Regions from separate parts of the Homo sapiens genome. Here region 2 is linked to region 1. The links are contacts of gene promoters, found by promoter capture Hi-C in human tissues and cell types (Jung and others, 2019). All regions are on one chromosome and are shown on one strand. Each heading gives the region's core, a stretch centred on a gene start or on the middle of the fragment in contact. The rest is flanking DNA. Distances are from core to core; before and after follow the strand shown.

Region 1 (4,656 bases), core at 920-3,419:
CATGTGGGCTTTTTCTTGGACCTGGGCAATACTGAACAAAATGCAATGGAAAAGCAAACAGGGTGCAAATGAATCACATGGGGACAAGCCAACACACTGGCACCCCACTGTGGCCTGAAAGCAGCACCCACAAATGAGCCAGCAAGTGACACCTTCCTAACAGACTCCACGCCAGAGACAAGATATCCCACAAAGCCAGGGCCCATCCTGCTAGCTAATGGGGAGGGTGGGGAGGGAGAGCTCTGCCCACCCAGGAGGAGGGAGCCTGGCATGGGGAGCCCTGCTCCAAACCCAGGCCACGTGCTGCTCATTTCCATCTCTCTGGGTCTCTGGGAAACCGCAGCTTCCCATTTTTGCTCACATGTTCACAAAGTACCTCCACCTACTCAAATCTTAAACATAGAAACAAGGGCCTACAAAACGGCATTTTAATTTCTGTCAGAACCAAAGCCATACTCGTCTGAATAAGTCAGTTACAGCAGCACTAGGCACATGAAAAGAACAGCACCCTCCCCAACACCTACTAGATGATTAGCATAAAATGAGAGGGAAACCGGGTCTAGACCCAAAACCATAAGCACAGCACCACCCAGCGACACTAGGAGGAGCTGCACATGAGGAACTCGAGGCTCCAGCCCAGGGCGGCCCTAGTGATTTCTCCTCGCTGAAATCAAAGACCCAGTAAAATATCTGGAATATTTCCAGTATTATCCATACCGAAAGATCTGGAATGGAGTGGATTTTAAGCCTCCTCGAAGTCAAACAAGCTTAGAGCAAATGGCATGTCATATTTTCTGAGTAGCTGACATGGGGTTGCCAGATAAAATACAGAATGCATGTTCCCTGCAATATTTGGGACATATTTATACTTTTTGTTTTAAAAGTATTCATTGTTTATCTAACTTTCAAATTTAATTAGGCAGCCTGTATTTTTATTTGCTAAATCTGGCAATCCTAAACCTTCTATAGTCTGAACAATTCCTGCCCCAAAGTATCCACCCCCAGAGATCAGAGATTTTTGCAAAACAAACTCTTTAAGTTTATTCCATGAGGCAGCATCACATCAGCAGCATTGTAAGCTAGCGGATTGCCCCTAGCAACAGGCATGGAAGACGCTCTGCTCCATGAAGCCAAAGACTAGGAGGGGAGGGAAAAGCAGAGACTGGAATGGGGGTCCAGATAACTGGGTCATAAAACAGAACCACGACAGTGCAAGAGGATGGAGAAGAGATGGGCAATTCTGAAAAAAAACAAAGGAGAGAGGAAAACTAACAACCCTTGTCTCTTGAGAATTTTACCTGTTTAAAGGTGTTCCTGCAGCCTAAAGACACTGCTACTGTGTTTCCCCTCATTGTGGCACGTGGGCCTGGAAAGGTAAGGTCTGAAAAACTGGCATATCAAGAAAGCCACACCACCACCAATTGTCCACACCCAAGCAATCGTTTCTTTAAGAAGGGGTTATTAAAATGAGTTTGTGTCCCAGTTGTCTGAAATTTAAAACCTCATTGTTTTTCTAAGACACTAAACAGGTTTTGTTTTATGTTATTTGCTCTTCCTTGGCCCGCCCCTTCGATAAGCACAGCCACCACCACCGAGGCCTTGCACACACCTTTGCAGTGAACGGCGATGGCCCCTTCGGTGTTCTCACAGATGTTCAGGAACCTTCGCACGATGTTGTCACTGGGTGTGCTGCCATCTATGAAGAAGAGGTCATAGTGCTCGAAGCCAGCGTCTGTGAAGCGCTTTGCCTCATAAATCTTTTTGTTTAGCCTCACAACTGCAGTCACATTATGCTTTTTGAAATAAGGAAAGTAGGCTTCAGGGGCGTGAAGAGGATAACCTAAAGGAACAAAGGAGCAGTAAGCAAAAGGCATGCATTTCATCTTCCACAACCCAGAAATACAAAACTCTCAACAATGAAGTGTATAAATCTCAACAAAGCTTGGGAGGAAAGTGTGTTGTGTGAGAGAAGAGGTCACAGCAAGCTCCTACAAGCATCAATCTGCATAACTGTAAGCACCACAGGAGGTTAAAAAGAAAACTTCTGTAAGTACTGAAAATACATCATTAAAGTTCAAAATCTCAACCTCTAGATTCGAATCCTGGGAGCATACTCTTCCCACTCCCAAGACAAAAGCATTCTTGAAGTAATCAAATGTGCATAACAGACCTAGAATGGTGACTTTATTCTCTCTTGAGCTTTATTCTCTACTTGACAAACAGTTTTCAACTACAGCTGAAGCTTTTTTGCCATATGTATAGTTTTAATTTGTAGTACAATGCTCCCCAGAAGCAATTATTATTAAGCACCTACTATGTACAAGTCACAATTGCGTATCATTTCAAATTCTCAAAACCATCTCTTAAGTATGGCTAATTCCATTTAACAGATTAAGAAACTAAAAGAGGGGGTGTTGGGAGGATATTGGTCAAAGAAAACAAAATTTCAGTTAGAAAGGAGTATGTCCCAGAGATCTATTGTACAACATAGTGACTATAATAACAATGTATTATATACTTTAAAGTCATTTAGAAAGTAAAATTTAAGTCTTCTCACCACAAAAAATGATAAATATGTGAATACTTAAGTAAGACTTGACTTAACCATTCTACGATGTATACATATTTCAAAAGTTGTTGTACACCATAAATATATAATTTTTATCAATTAAAATATAAATTTTTTTAGTTAAAAATAAACAATAACTTTTGTGGACACTTCCTTTTTTTGAGGGAGGAAGATGCTCCACCTTTAAATCCCCTTTTATTTTTGAGTGGCTCCACCATCATGTGAGTATTCCTGGGAGCTACACAGTCAGCTGGGTTACAGACCTAGCCTTAGCTAATCAGCCAAGGCAACCACTGGGGGCTTTGGCCTTTGCAGGCCTTGCAATGGCAGCTCCAAAAGTTCAGGGGACTAAGTTCCCAGCACACTGATGGCCACATCTGTAACCCATTCAGAATTCACTGAACCCTAACATACCAGCTGAGTGCAATTATCTCAGTTGGAACCCATTCATGATGGGAGGTTCCAGGGGTGGCGGCAGCCAGCAAAGTGAACCAGACTGTTTCCACGCTGTGTGCTTGGCTGTATTTCTTGCTGCCTTGGATCCCTGTTATGCTAGTCAGCTCTCAGCTCCAAGCCGACTCTTATGCTCTGTGACACTGGGGCTGGAGTCCATATACTACGCCCTACATTTCCCAGACTACCTTTCTATCTGGCTTCCTATTGGTTGTAAAAATGGGAGGCACTAAACCTCAACCTGAGGAGGAGGAAGGGAATTCTTCCTGTCCTCCTGGCAGCATCACTTCAGCAGCAGAAAACAGGAGCAGGTTCTGCTAACTCCACTTTTGTCCCTTTTGTCCCCCCAGCCTTAAAGGTACTAGCTGTTTTCTCCAACATATTCTGGTTTCTTCAGTGTTGCCTTTTTACTTTTTAGTCTTCTTTGAAATAAACTCCTTGTATTAAATGCTTTATGTTTGAAATGCCTAGTGTGGTTCCCATTTTCCCACTTGGGTCCTGTTCATCTTCTAAGCCTAGTTCTCCAGCCTTTTCTTAAAGTCTATGAGCTACCCAACATATTCCAAAAACTGCCTTTTACCAGAGTTGGACAGCCATAACTGGTACACTTGGCCAGGTCACACAAAGGATGAAGACAGAATTGGAAGGCAGGACCAATTAATCCACAGCTCAGATATGTGATTTTCACAGGCTATGTTGCTTTTGAGCAAACAGGTAAAACAGAGCTTATTTAAAATCTTCTGTGTAGAAACAATAACCTACACAAACATGGAGAAAACATGCTTTTCTAACTGCAAAAATCAAGTCTGTTTTCCTAGTTGGTTTACTTGCTCAAATTATTTCCCTGCAACAGATTTATAGCCTAAAGCAAAAAAAGAACTGTAGTTGGCATTAAGAAGTAACGGTTTTTCTATCATGTGAGGAATGGGGAGGAGAAGGGCTCATAAACACCTGGGCAGCCTGCCCTGGTGTGGCGGGCTGGTGAGAGCTTCTGCCTCTGGGTTGCTAGCATGCCTGGGACCTCCATGACAGCACCTGTCACACGTTGTGTTAGCAATTGGTTCAGTGCCTATCCCCTTCCTCCCTGCAACAAAGGCTGCAAGAATCTCTCTTTTCATATATGAATTTCCATCATGAGTAAATGGCAGCATAGCTAACATGCCTAAATAGACTATTAAGAGAAACGATGTATACATCTTTTGAGAAGAAAACACTGGACAGAAATTGTCCAAATATGGCAACAGGGCACTGAAATAATAATAACAACAATAATTGCACCTAACGTTTATCAAGCACTTACTATATGCTAGCCACTATGCTAAGTGCTTTATGTGGATTATCTCATTAAAACCTACAATTACTCAATTTCTGGTGCCTGGAAAAGCTGGCCCGTACACATACAGCTAGTAAGAGGTAGAGCCAGTATTTCAATCCTGGCAGTCAGATTCCAACACCCATGCTGGGGCTAATTTCAAGTAAGATTCAACTTGATTCTATCTGTTAAGACTCCAAATAAGAGAACATGATATGAACATGAGCGGTTAGAATTGGTGAGTAGGTTTTATAAAAATCCTTAAAACTGTTTAGAATAAATTATAACGAACAATGGAAATGTCCTATGACCTGTGAACAAC
Region 2 (4,680 bases), core at 1,744-4,243, 490 kb after region 1:
ATATCAATTTCAAATATAATTGAGGCAGCCTAAGGCGTATATGTAGGTCCCAGGGCAAATTATTTGGACTGTCTGAACTTTAATATTCTTATCTATAAAATAGCGGTGATAATAACTATCCTACACCAACGATTTATTACTAGGATCAAATGAGGTACTAAAACATGGAACAGAAAAGCATTTTCAAATATTAAATCCACAGTAAGTTTCTATAACAACTCAAGAGCTCATCTTGTCTCCAGAAGCACAATAACAGTCTGTTTCATTACATGATTAATGTAACAAATATTTAAGAGTCTAATACATCATGATGTGTTCAAGTACTAAAGTGCTTTAAAAATGTAGTAAGTACAGGCTGGGCGCGGTGGCTCATGCCTGTAATTCCAGCACTTTAGGAGGTGAGGTGGGTGGATCACTTGAGGCCAGGAGTTCAAAACCAGCCTGGCCAACATGGTGAAACCCCCGTCTCTACTAAAAATACAAAAATTAGCTAGGTGTGGTGATGCACGCCTGTAGTCCCAGCTACTCGAGAGGCTGAGGCAGAAGAATCTCTTGAACCTGGAAGGCAGAGGTGGCAGTGAGGCGAGAGGGTCACGCCACTGCACTCCAGCCTGCGTGACAGAGCAAGACTCCATCTCAAAAAAAAAAAAAAAAAAAGTAGTAAGTACAAATGCTTTCCTTAGGAAGCTTACATTACAGTAGGGATAATAGAACTCTCAAATTACAATGCAAATTTAACAAGTGTTGTAAGATTTATAAAGCCCAGCACACATGAAGAAAAAAAAATGGGCTGGGCGTAGTGGCTCATGCCTGTAATCCCAACACTTTGGGATGTCGAGGCAGGTGGATCACCTGAGGTCAGGAGTTCAAGACCAGCCTGGCCAACATGGTGAAACCCCGTCTCAACTAAAACTACAAAAAAATTGGCTGGGTGTGGTGGCGGGCACCTGTAATCCCAGCTACTTCAGGAGGCTGAGGCAGGAGAATCGCTTGAACCCGGGAGACGGAGGTTGCAGTGAGCCGAGATCGCAACATTGAACTCCAGCCTGGGCAACAAGAGCAAAACTCTCTCAAAAAAAGAGAAAAAGAAAAAGAAAAAAAGAATGAACTGGATTTATGGCAGATTTCAGAAAGCTGCATAAGAAAGAGATGGCATTTAAGGAATTGAAGAATAAGTAGAATTTCTACAAAGACAGCAAGGAAGGCCTTCCTTGTTTCTTCTTTGTAGGAAGAAATGATAAAAGCAAACACCAAGGCTGACAGGCATATAGCATGTTCAGAAACTGGACGTCTAATTAACGACTAGTTTGGCTAAAAAATAGGATATGTGGAAAAAAGTAATACTTGTTTAATAAAAGGAAAAAAGAAAGAATCATATTGGGGGCCGGGTGCGGTGGCTCACGCCTGTAATCCCAGCACTTTGAGAGGCCGAGGTGGGTGGATCACGAGGTCAGGAGATCGAGACCATCCTGGCTAACATGGTGAAACCCCGTCTCTATTAAAAATACAAAAAAATTAGCCGGGCGTGGCGGCGGGCGCCTGTAGTCCCAGCTACTCAGGAGGCTGAGGCAGGAGAACGGCATGAACCCGGGAGGCGGAGCTTGCAGTGAGCTGAGATTGCGCCACTGCACTCCAGCCTGGGCGACAGAGCGAGACTCCGTCTAAAAAAAAAAAAAAAGAATCATATTGATTTTACTGGAGCCACCGTCAGACTCAAATTCTGAAGGAAAAATCTGAAGCCTCCCTAAATAATATAAAATTTATTAAATGCCTCCCTAAATAATTTACATTTTATTCTGAAGCCGATCGAGAGTCACTGCGTATTTCTGAGGAAGGAATAACCAAAAAAAGAAAGTCATAAGATCTTTGGCTTTAAAAGTAATATGGAGGCAAGTGACTGGAAGGGTGCCAGGCTGAGGACAAGTCCAGTTTGGAAGTTATTGCTATAGTGCAAGTAAGAAGAGGAAAGACGAGCATATTTAGCAGACAGGTAGTGGGAATGAAAAAGGGGAGAACTAAATTTGAGATGCTGAAGAGATAGAATCAACAGTTGGGAGGAAAGTTAGCCTCAGAAATATAAGTTTACAAGTCATTCCCTTGAAACACCCTGAGTTTACCAGTGAAAGTGAATAAGAACACCAAGTAAGAAACTGCACCAAATTTCATCTTTAACTACTAAAGTCGAATGTTGATTTCAAAAACGAAAAGACTTAATTTTCAAATACTGCATTTAAGAGAACATAATAAAAGATCGTCTTTTACTATAAAGCAATGCACCCACACACCTGTTCTGATGAGAATCTCACCCCACTTCAAACAGTCCTTGTGTTCTTACTAGCCTTACCAAGGGCAGCCTTTCCATTTCTTTAAGTTCCTGCGGCTTCTTGAGCTCCAGGTGCTGGTCGGGTGCATCTGTGCCTACCACAGGGCTCAACACCGAGCGAGAGCTCATGGGATGTTCACTGAAGGAATGACGGGCCCCAGCCGGGCCCACCCGTCACTAGCTCCGCACGCACCAGGCGCTGAGGCACACACTGCCGTCTTCATTCGCTTGACACACCCCTCTCCTCGGGCCTTTTTTCCTCCTCCACCCAGTACATTCCGCACGTCGTCCGTCGGAGTTACAACGTGTCACCTCATCTGCTCCCACCCCTACTTAGCTAGCACTGTATTTCAGGTCTTCGATACCGTCCCCTTCACCCCTACAGACTTCACATCAGCCCCCTCGCATGCCTCCTCTTCCTCCTCCTCCAGGAGCTTCCCGGGCCGCCCCGCAGCCGCTAGCCTCCTGGTTCCCGCCCCTCCCCAGGTGCGCTGAGGACTCACCTCCCGCGCAGCTCGACCGGCTGAGCCCACCACCGGGGGCCGCGGTTCAGCTCCGCCGGGCGCCCCAGGCTGCCGAGTCCGCTGGGTCCTACGCGACCGCTGACCCGCAGCGCCGCCGGCTCCCGTCGCCGTAGCCACCGCCAGCTCGGTGCAGCCCAGGCGTTTCCGGGTTCCCGCGGTCCCGTCCCCCAAATGCTCCGGCTTCCGCCTCGGCTCTGGCAAATGCCGTTCCCGGCTCGGCTCTGGCAGCCCCAGCTCGGCACTTGGCAGCTCTGTCCCTAAGGCGACGCACCTGGGCTGCTCTGCTGGCAGCCCCTGGTTCCTGCTTCACCGTCGCGTGGAGGCCTGGGGCACTGCTTTCTGCTACACCTCTCCTAGGAGCGCGAAACAGATGGAGTGACACTCGTCGAGGGCCTCTGCGGGACTGTCTGTTTGCAGAGGGTGCCAAGGTGTCCACTGCGTAAGGAAGGGCAAAGTCCTTTGGGGCAAAGAACCCTGAGAGGAACGGGGAGATGGATTTTGAAAGCAAACGAACCCTCTCCTAAAAGTGACTGTCACTGACCTGAAAACAACCAGATTAGCTATGGCAAAGGCTGCCAACCAACCAGTGGTCTGCAAGAAGGCTTGTTCTTCCACTTCACCCACCCTGACTGAGATCTTGAGACTGAAGGAAACCCAAAGCCGTACCACCAATGGGCCTAGTGTCATCAACCGGGAGAGGAAAAAGAAAACTGGGCCCAGAGGATTGCAGAGTTATGAGGGACCAACCCCTTCCTGGCTGCATGGATCACAGCATTACCTTTTAAAAGTGTTCCAGTAGCTGTGTTGGAAACCCTCTAACCACGGCAGCCCATTCAGGTGATGAACAGGCTGAAATCAGTACTTCAGGTTCAGCTGGATTATCAAATAAGCGAATAGGATTATCTCTTTTTGTTAACTCAGGGCTGCTATAAATTAAGCCTATGTCTCTTTATATTGCAAATGATTAAAACCATGTCCAAGAGAGACATACTTAGAAAAAAAGTGATATTGAAGAAAAATAAGTAACTGTATTAGAGTAGAATAACTGGTTTTAAAATTTTCTGCAATACAGTCTTGAGAAAATTCCTGGATGGTAAAATACATATTAGATCTTAATACATGCCCAGTTTTTTTTGAAACCAAAATGTGCCTGTTAGATGATGATAACAGCATGCCTCGTTTTATTGTGATTTGCTTTATTGCTCTTCACAGACATTGCTTTTGTTTTTTTGTTTTTTTTTTTTACAAATTGAAGGTTTGTGGCAACCTTGCCTCAAGCACATCTATTGGTGCCATTTTTCCAACAGCATGTGCTCACTTTGTGTCTCTGTGTCACATAATATTCAATAATTTTTGCAATATTTAAATTTGTTCATCATTATTATATCTGGTATAGTGCTTTGTGATCAATGATCTTTGATGTTACTATGGTAATTGTTTTGGGGTGCTGATATGGTTTGGCTGTGTCCCCACCCAAATCTCAACTTGAACTGTATCTCCCAGAATTCCCACGTGTTGAGGGAGAGACCTAGGGGGAGATAATTGAATCATGGGGGCCAGTCTTTCCTGTGCTATTCTCATGATAGTGAATAAGTCTCATGAAATCCGATGGGTTTATCTGGGGTTTCTGATTTTGCTTCTTCCTCATTTTTCTCTTGCTGCAGCCATGTAAGCAAGTACCTTTCACCTCCCGCCATGATTCTGAGGCCTCCCCCGCCATGTGGAACTGTAGGTCCAATTAAACTTCTTTTTCTTCCCAGTCTCGGGTATGTCTTTATCAGCACCATGAAAATGGACTAATACAGGTGCCATGTACTGCACTCATATAGAAAG

The links. Contacts are between HindIII fragments. The study calls those that stand out against the background at their distance.
Region 2: a contact is called between the fragment with the promoter of SLC35A3 here and a fragment that was not itself captured in region 1, in 1 of the 25 tissues and cell types used here (mesendoderm cells).

The regions. Positions count from the first base shown.
Region 1 is chr1:100,459,835-100,464,490 of GRCh38, reverse strand. It overlaps CDC14A (cell division cycle 14A), which reads right to left. Exons shown (of 16, transcript NM_003672.4): 9 at 1,610-1,840. Among named protein-coding and RNA genes, the nearest start is that of GPR88, 76 kb to the left of the region's middle. RefSeq lists enhancers at 354-443, 1,722-2,343. The HindIII fragment of the contact is 3,820 bases long and covers 260-4,079 here.
Region 2 is chr1:99,968,309-99,972,988 of GRCh38, reverse strand. SLC35A3 (solute carrier family 35 member A3) reads right to left here and starts at 2,993. Exons shown (of 8, transcript NM_012243.3): 1 at 2,827-2,993. All of the region lies in intron 1 of LOC124904230 (a long non-coding RNA gene), which reads left to right. RefSeq lists enhancers at 2,544-2,633, 3,354-3,403, 3,464-3,513 and a silencer at 2,754-2,953. The HindIII fragment of the contact is 9,355 bases long and covers 1-4,680 here.